Regions from separate parts of the Homo sapiens genome. Here region 1 is linked to region 2. Evidence: promoter capture Hi-C in 16 types of primary human blood cells and fetal thymus (Javierre and others, 2016). All regions are on one chromosome and are shown on one strand. Each heading gives the region's core, a stretch centred on a gene start or on the middle of the fragment in contact. The rest is flanking DNA. Distances are from core to core; before and after follow the strand shown.

Region 1 (4,220 bases), core at 1,150-3,649, 250 kb after region 2:
GTGGTAGAATGCAGAGGTACCAACAGGGAGGAGGAATTGGAAATGCGTTGGTGACTTAGCAAGATTTGAATAGTGGTATTTTCTAAGCAACCAGAATCGCCTGAGTAATATAATCACCTCTGTGCTTCTGTAGAATGGGAAAATAAAAATAACAAACAAGAAAGGGTTGCTTTAATCTGTATCTCATGTGAATCCATTAGACACTTGCTGCTTCTTGCTTTTCCTGGGATGATTTGCTTTTTAAAGCAGCAGGCAGCATATCAGACAAAAAAACATCATGGCCTGGATGGTCTCTGCAGATGGGAAGCAAGACCTTTCTGACTGAAGGTGATCTGTCTCTGCCTAGAGAGTTAATATAGCCAGAGTTTTTCCCATCATAATGTATCAACTTTAGAAAGATTAATTTCAGCTAAATGGATATATGTTGTGAGCTCTGAGAACATTGAAAGCCCCATGCTAAGTTGCAGCTACTATGCAGTAGGTCTTAGTCATCTCAGGCTGCTGTAACAAAATACCATAGACTGGGTGGCTTAAGCAACAGACATTTATTTCTCTGAGTTTGGAGTCTGGGAAGTCCAAGATCAAGGTGCCTGCTGAGTGAGTTCCTGGCACGAGCTGTCTTCCTGGTTTGCAGAGAAATGCCTTCTTGCATTCTCACATGGTAGAGAGAGAGTAGGAGATTTATGTCTCTTCTTATAAAGGGATTAAAACTACAATGGTGGGGGGGCAAAACATATGACCTTGTCTAAATCTAATTACATCCCAGAGGGTTGACCTCCATATACCATCACATTGGGTATTATTAGGGCTTCAACATATGAATTTGGGGGAAGACACAAAATTCAGTCCATAGCACAGTGGGTACTCTCCAGTAGAATAAAAAAAAAAATTTAAGAAGAAATATAGTAAATGTAGAAAAATACAGACTCTGTTCAGCAAAACCAATGTATTCAAAATTCTAAAACTCTAGTGTTTACTGAGATATTTGAAATAACTTGCCAGGTGCGGTGGCTCACACCTGTAATCCCAGTGCTTTGGGAGGCCAAGGCAGGTGGATCACAAGGTCAGGAGATCGAGACCATCCTGCCTAACACAGTGAAACCCCATCTCTACTAAAAATACAAAAAATTAGCCAGGCGTAGTGGTGGGCGCCTGTAGTCCCAGTTACTCGAGAGGCTGAGGCAGGAGAATGTCGTGAACCTGGGAGGCAGAGCTTGCAGTGAGCAGAGATCGCTCCACTGCACTCCAGCCTGGGTGACAGAGCAAGACTCCGTCTCAAAAAAAAAAAAAAAAAAGAAATAACTTTAGTTGGCTATAGGCAAAACAAATGATTTGTGAAATGACAAAACATGATACAGGATTTCTGGAGAATTTGACACAGTACACAGAGAAAAGTTGCAGAAAGAATAAATATTCTTTCCTGACTCCAAATGAGAAAAGGTACTGCTCAGAGATAAAATTAAAGACAAGAAAATTGGATATCTGTTTCAGGAAATAAAACTAACATTTTAAATCAGATTATTGAAGTATCCCCCAACCTTATTATTTTAGGTTGATCTGCTAAGTAAACCCATTGGGCAAATCTTATGCAGGCAGGTAGCTAAATTAAGTGGCCCAAGAATTCTTTTCAATTTCCAATTTCTTTGACTTATAACACAATTAAGAAATTTATAATGAGGTGAAAAATAGAATTACTTAGAAGGGATATTATCATATCTCATTTGTATTTGATTTAAACTGAAACCTAATCACTTTGAAAAGCTTTGTGCTGACTGAGTTATTTTCTGCTACGTGGTGGATGCTCTTTCTTATTTGTTCACCATGGTCTGCTTTTATTTGAAATATTATGGTATTTAATAACATGTCTAGCCATAACCACAGAGTTTCTTACAGCTTTTAATATCAGCAACATAACTCTTCTACTCTCTTGACTTAGCATTTCAAAAGTGAGGTTCATAAAAATCCTATTTGTAGAGCAAACATCTAACTCCAATTTCATGTACCAAATTTGGTAGCCATGGATTTCTTTATCTCCAGTGCATTTGCATTAACATAAGATGATAATGTTGCTAGCTTCTCTACCAAATAACATTCTAGCATAAGCCACAGCAAGGGCAAAAGCCCAGCAAAATTCAAGGATGTGACATACCCAGAGAATGCTAATATTCAGTGTAGCTGAAAAACTATGTATGAATGAAAAGGAATATCAAATTCTCGTGTAAAATACTTATTTTGAGTTTGAAATACTTAATTGTGACCAAAAAATTGTTTCTTTTCATATAAAAATAGAAGGACATCCTGGAGAACTGTGGCTGTCTCTGGAAAAGGTACTTTTGACTTCAAAATGTCACTGAAGAATTTGTGCCAGAAGCCTCCTTGAAGGCACACTTTTGATGAAAGAAAAAAGGATTTCTGGTTTTGAAAGCTCTTTTTCTCAGAAAAAAAAAAAAAAAAAACCTTAGCAGAGGCACAAATTGAAAAATGTACAATATATGATCATTGAATCTTTTTAAAAGTTAGTGCTAGGCAAGAAAAGCAATGGAAGAATTTCAGACACTACAGGAAACTCCTCAAATTCATATTTCCCTCTTACTGGCCTTGAAACTTGAAAATGAATGCAGATTTATGTGTCCCCACCCATCAAGTTCACACGTTGAAGCCCCAGTACCCAATGTGATGGTATTTGGAGGTCAAGCCTCTGAGAGGTAATTAGTTTTAAACACGGTCATGTGGGTGCCCCCCTGACACACACCACTGTGGGATTAGTGCCCTTGTAGGAACAGACACAAGAGAAATCTCTCTGCACCAGAGAGAGATCCCTCACCAGGAACTGAATCAGTCTTACTTTGAGCTTGGAATTCCCAGACTCCAAACTGAGAGAAATAAACGTCTGTTGCTTAAGCCACCCAGTCTATAGCATTTTGTTATAGCAGCCTGTGCTAAGACATACTGCAAACTAGTAGACAGCTAGGAAAGCTGATAGTTATATTAACTTTATTATTTACTGTTCTTCCGTTTCACATTGTTTGTGGCAGATGAAGCTTGCAGAACAGTTGGAGCAATAAAGCAGCCCAGGTATTTGTGGTGTTCCTTGACCCACAGGCTGGGGCAGCCACCCAGCAGAAGTGGAACAATAGAGCTGTTGCCCCTCCTAGAGAAGCTGCTGAAAGCCGGGGAGAAACACTCAAAGCTTCACCCCTCCTCCTTCAGTCCAGTCTCCTGCCAGTGTCTCCCATCAGAAACCAGCTGGCAAGGCAGCCAGGAAAACACAGACTGCAAGGATCAGCCTCTTAGCATACAGGACACAGCACAGGGAGGGCAAGAAACATATTCAAGAGCAAACAAATGACAGGCACACCTTGAAAATAGTGGTCAAGAGACAAAAGTGCTTCTACTGGTACAAAAGTACTCTGTGTGCTCTCTCTCTCTCTCTCTCTCTGTGTGTGTGTGTGTGTGTGTGTGTGTGTGTTTTCTTAGAAGTTACTTTGTTTTGTTTTGTTTTGAGATATGATCATTACTATTTAATATGATCTTCTCAAGAAGCCCGGTAATATTGGACACTTCCTTCTAAAGCAGTGATAGAAGGATACTGGTATACTTCAAGAATGGATGGTAATATATGCATGAGATATATCTTTTAGTTCATGTATTGCTCTTAGGCATCAGTTGTAGCTTGCCTCACTGTGTCACCCAGGCTGGAGTATAGTGGCATGATTTCCACTCACTGCAACCCCCACCTCCGAGGTTCAAGCGATTCTCCTGCCTCAGCCTCCTCAGTAACTGGGACTACAGGCATGCATCACCATGCCCAGCTATTTTTTGTATGTTTAGTAGAGACGGGGTTTCGCCATGTTGGCCAGGCTGGTCTCGAACTCCTGACTTCAAGTGATCCACCCGCCTTGGCATCCCAAAGTGCTGGGATTACAGGCATGAGCCACCGTGCCCAGCCCCTTATTCACTCATTTTAATGGTGCACTTCTGAAATTTGCTCCCACCAAAACGGCACAACCATGGCCTTGTCAGCCTCCAAGGAATGTGGTGTGAACATGGATCATTCTAACCATACGGAGGCACAGTAAGACCAGGACTTAATTTGAGCCTCTGAACTGAGCATAGGGTTTAATGAACCACTTCTCCACTGTGATAAAGTATACTAGCAAAACTGCTATGGTTTGTATGCACAGCCTGCAGCTGAACCCATTACAGGATGCATTATTTGA
Region 2 (3,762 bases), core at 122-2,621:
GGTTCCATTCTCCCCATCACTTTCAGTTACACCAATCAGACGTAGATTTGGTCTTTTCACATAGTCCCATTTTTCTTGGAGGCTTTGCTCATTTCTTTTTATTGTTTTTGCTCTAACCTTCCCTTCTCGCTTCATTTCATTCATTTCATCTTCCATTGCTGATACCCTTTCTTCCAGTTGATCGCATCGGCTCCTGAGGCTTCTGCATTCTTCACGTAGTTCTCGAGCCTTGGTTTTCAGCTCCATCAGCTCCTTTAAGCACTTCTCTGTATTGGTTATTCTAGTTATACATTCATCTAAATTTTTTTCAAAGTTTTCAACTTCTTTGCCTTTGGTTTGAATGTCCTCCCGTAGCTCAGAGTAATTTGATCGTCTGAAGCCTTCTTCTCTCAGCTCTTCAAAGTCATTCTCCATCCAGCTTTGTTCCGTTGCTGGTGAGGAACTGCGTTCCTTTGGAGGAGAAGAGGCGCTCTGCGTTTTAGAGTTTCCAGTTTTTCTGTTCTGTTTTTTCCCCATCTTTGTGGTTTTATCTACTTTTGGTCTTTGATGATGGTGATGTACAGATGGGTTTTCGGTGTGGATGTCCTTTCTGTTTGTTAGTTTTCCTTCTAACAGACAGGACCCTCAGCTGCAGGTCTGTTGGAATACCCTGCCGTGTGAGGTGTCAGTGTGCCCCTCCTGGGGGTGCCTCCCAGTTAGGCTGCTCAGGGGTCAGGGGTCAGGGACCCACTTGAGGAGGCAGTCTGACGGTTCTCAGATCTCCAGCTGGGTGCTGGGAGAACCACTGCTCCCTTCAAAGCTGTCAGACAGGGACATTTAAGTCGCAGAGGTTACTGCTGTCTTTTTGTTTGTCTGTGCCCTGCCCCCAGAGGTGGAGCCTACAGTGGCAGGCAGGCCTCCTTGAGCTGTGGTGGGCTCCACCCAGTTCGAGCTGCTTTGTTTACCTAAGCAAGCCTGGGCAATGGCGGGCGCCCCTCCCACAGCCTCGCTGCCGCCTTGCAGTTCGATCTCAGACTGCTGTGCTAGCAATCAGGGAGACTCTGTGGGCGTAGGACACTCCGAGCCAGGTGTGGGATATAGTCTCGTGGTGCGCCGTTTTTTAAGCCGGTCTGAAAAGCGCAATATTCGGGTGGGAGTGAACTGATTTTCCAGGTGCGTCCGTTACCCCTTTCTTTGACTCGGAAAGGGAACTCCCTGACCCCTTGAGCTTCCCAGGTGAGGCAATGCCTCGCCCTGCTTTGGCTCGCGCACCGTGCGCGCACCCACTGGCCTGCACCCACTGTCTGACACTCCCTAGTGAGATGAACCCGGTACCTCAGATGGAAATGCAGAAATCATCCGTCTTCTGCGTGGCTCACGCTGGGAGCTGTAGACCGGAGCTGTTCCTATTCGGCCGTCTTGGCTCCTCCCCCCTTTTCTTTTGTTCTTAATGGTAAATAAAATAATGATGTATCTCGTAATCAATTGATGACATCTTAGAATTGATAAAATATGCTAAACTTCCTTCCTCCTTCTTCTGATCAAGTCACATAATATGTAATCTTAAAAACATTTATTTTAGCTGATTTTGATAAGCATCACATTGTATTCACAGTATTGTTCACATATATAATGTTTACATTAAACATTATTTCACATTTATTAATTATAACATGTAATCTTATATTGCATTGATGCTGGAGAAAAAATCTTTCATTTACTCCCAAATGTATATTTTCACTTCTTTTAAGGCATTTATTATAATAGTCCAAGATCAATTGCAAGTATTCATAAATGCAATAGGAAATGCTATAAATTGATCATTTAAAGAAATCTTAGTAGGTTTAGTTTTTTACAACAGAGCTGCATTGAACAATTACTGCACACATACACTGTGGTAAGGCTGAGAAAGCACACAAATGTTAACATGCAGCCCCAACCTCAGGAAGCTCAACATTTGTCACATTTAATGACATGAATTGATAAGGATTCTTTTTTGGTTTTGTAAGAGAAAAGGTCTTCTGTCATCCAGGCTGGAGTGCAGTGGCACAATCATAGCTTACTGTAACCTCAAACTCCTGGGCTTAAGTGATCCTCCCAACTCAGCCTCCCGAAATGTTGGGATTACAGGTGTGAGCCACTGCACCTGGCCTGAATGTATTCTTTCTAAGGAAATCTGAGGGGTCATAAATAGCATGGGGCACATAATTTTCTTTCTTTCAGATGTACCAAGAGGAAAAAAAAATCACAAACTTTGATAAGTAAAAGACATAAATAATATGATAGTGCTGCATTAAGTAGTACAAAGTGGAACACTTCAGATGTACCCAGCAAATGCTCTTGTTGAACAAAATAGTCTGGGTGTCTGTTCATTTCACTCATAATTACTGAGTGCCCACTCTATACTTAATATGAAGATGTGATGATTAGTTTTATTTGTCAACTTGGCTAGACCACAGTCCCTAATTATTCAATCAAATGTTAATCCAAGTGTTGCCATGAAGGCATTTTGTGTGTTATTAAAGTCCACAATCAATTGATTTTAAGTAAGGGAGATTATACTACATAATCTGAGTGGGCTTGATTTATTCAGTCCATTTAAAGGCCCTGAGAGCAAAGCTAAGGCTTCCCTGAAGAAGAAAAGCAAGCCCTATGAGGTAGCTATTAGCATTATTCCTATTTTACAGACTAGGACACTGAGGCTTAGAGTTCAATATCTGCAGACTTCAGTTCAACTCATGCCCAAGTTCCAAACTGTCCCTCCTGATATCCAGCCCTACAGATTTCAGACTTGTCCAGCCAGTCCCCAAAATCACTTAGGTCTATTTCTTGCAATAAATCACTTAACATCTATTTCTTACTGGTTCCGTTACTCTAGTTGAACCCTGACTTAATATATGAGAAGCAAGGGATACACAAGACAGACTCAGGCCTTGTTCCTACCAATTGTATGGTTTAGTGGAAATGTTACAGGAGAAGCTAAGTGATTACAAGACAGCCTTATGAAGGTAAAAGTACAGATACCTAGCTTAGACTTCAGAGTGTTACGAGTAAGAAAAGTTTCCTGGAAGACTGAAGTTTAATTTGAGAGTTGAAAAACTGAGTATGAATTAAGAAAGTAAAGTGTGTGTGTGCACATGCGTGTTGCAGGCAGTACAGTGATAAAGCATTTCTAGCAGAATACCTACCCTGTGCTAAAGGCTACAGGTAAGAGGGAGCATGGTACAATGGAAGACTGGTAGAAACTTCTGCAAAACTGGTGCACAGAGAGTGAAGGTGGAGTGCTGAGAGATAAAAACTATGGAAATGAGCAGAAGCTAGATCATGAAGTCTTGAGAGTCATGTCAAGTTGCTGGGCACACAGAAGCCACTTAAGGGTTTTTAGTATAGATAACACTTGATCACTTTTAGATTTGGGGAAAATCATTCAGAATGCAATGTGGAGAATTGATTGAGAGAAAATAAAGATTGGGAACTAGAAGAAATAATTCAAATGACTAATCATGGTGACCTAGTTTGGGTGAAAGCAGTGGGAATGGAGAGAATTGCATTGGAGAGATATTTAGACAGTGGAGTGAACAATACGTGGTGATTGATTGAATTTGAGGAATGATGGAGATTGAAAGTCATTGTCAAAACATGATTTCTCACCTAAATAAGTAGGTGGATGATGGGACCATTCACAAAGATGAGAAATAAGAAGGATTAAGTGTGGAGCAGAGGAAGACTATGTTTGAGGTACTTACGGGCATACTGTTGGAGATCACCAGTCAGCAGTTAGCT

The links. Contacts are between HindIII fragments. The CHiCAGO score rates a contact against its expected background, and 5 or more counts as called.
Region 1: a fragment that was not itself captured here is called in contact with the fragment with the promoter of LINC02108 in region 2 in 1 of 17 cell types (endothelial precursors); the score reaches 5.2 in endothelial precursors.

Annotation. Positions count from the first base shown.
Region 1 is chr5:58,806,948-58,811,167 of GRCh38, forward strand. The region is part of intron 3 of RAB3C (RAB3C, member RAS oncogene family); the gene reads left to right. Among named protein-coding and RNA genes, the nearest start is that of RAB3C, 230 kb to the left of the region's middle. The HindIII fragment of the contact is 1,280 bases long and covers 1,760-3,039 here.
Region 2 is chr5:58,556,872-58,560,633 of GRCh38, forward strand. LINC02108 (long intergenic non-protein coding RNA 2108) reads right to left here and starts at 1,372. Exons shown (of 4, transcript NR_109904.1): 1 at 1,315-1,372. The HindIII fragment of the contact is 10,011 bases long and covers 1-3,762 here.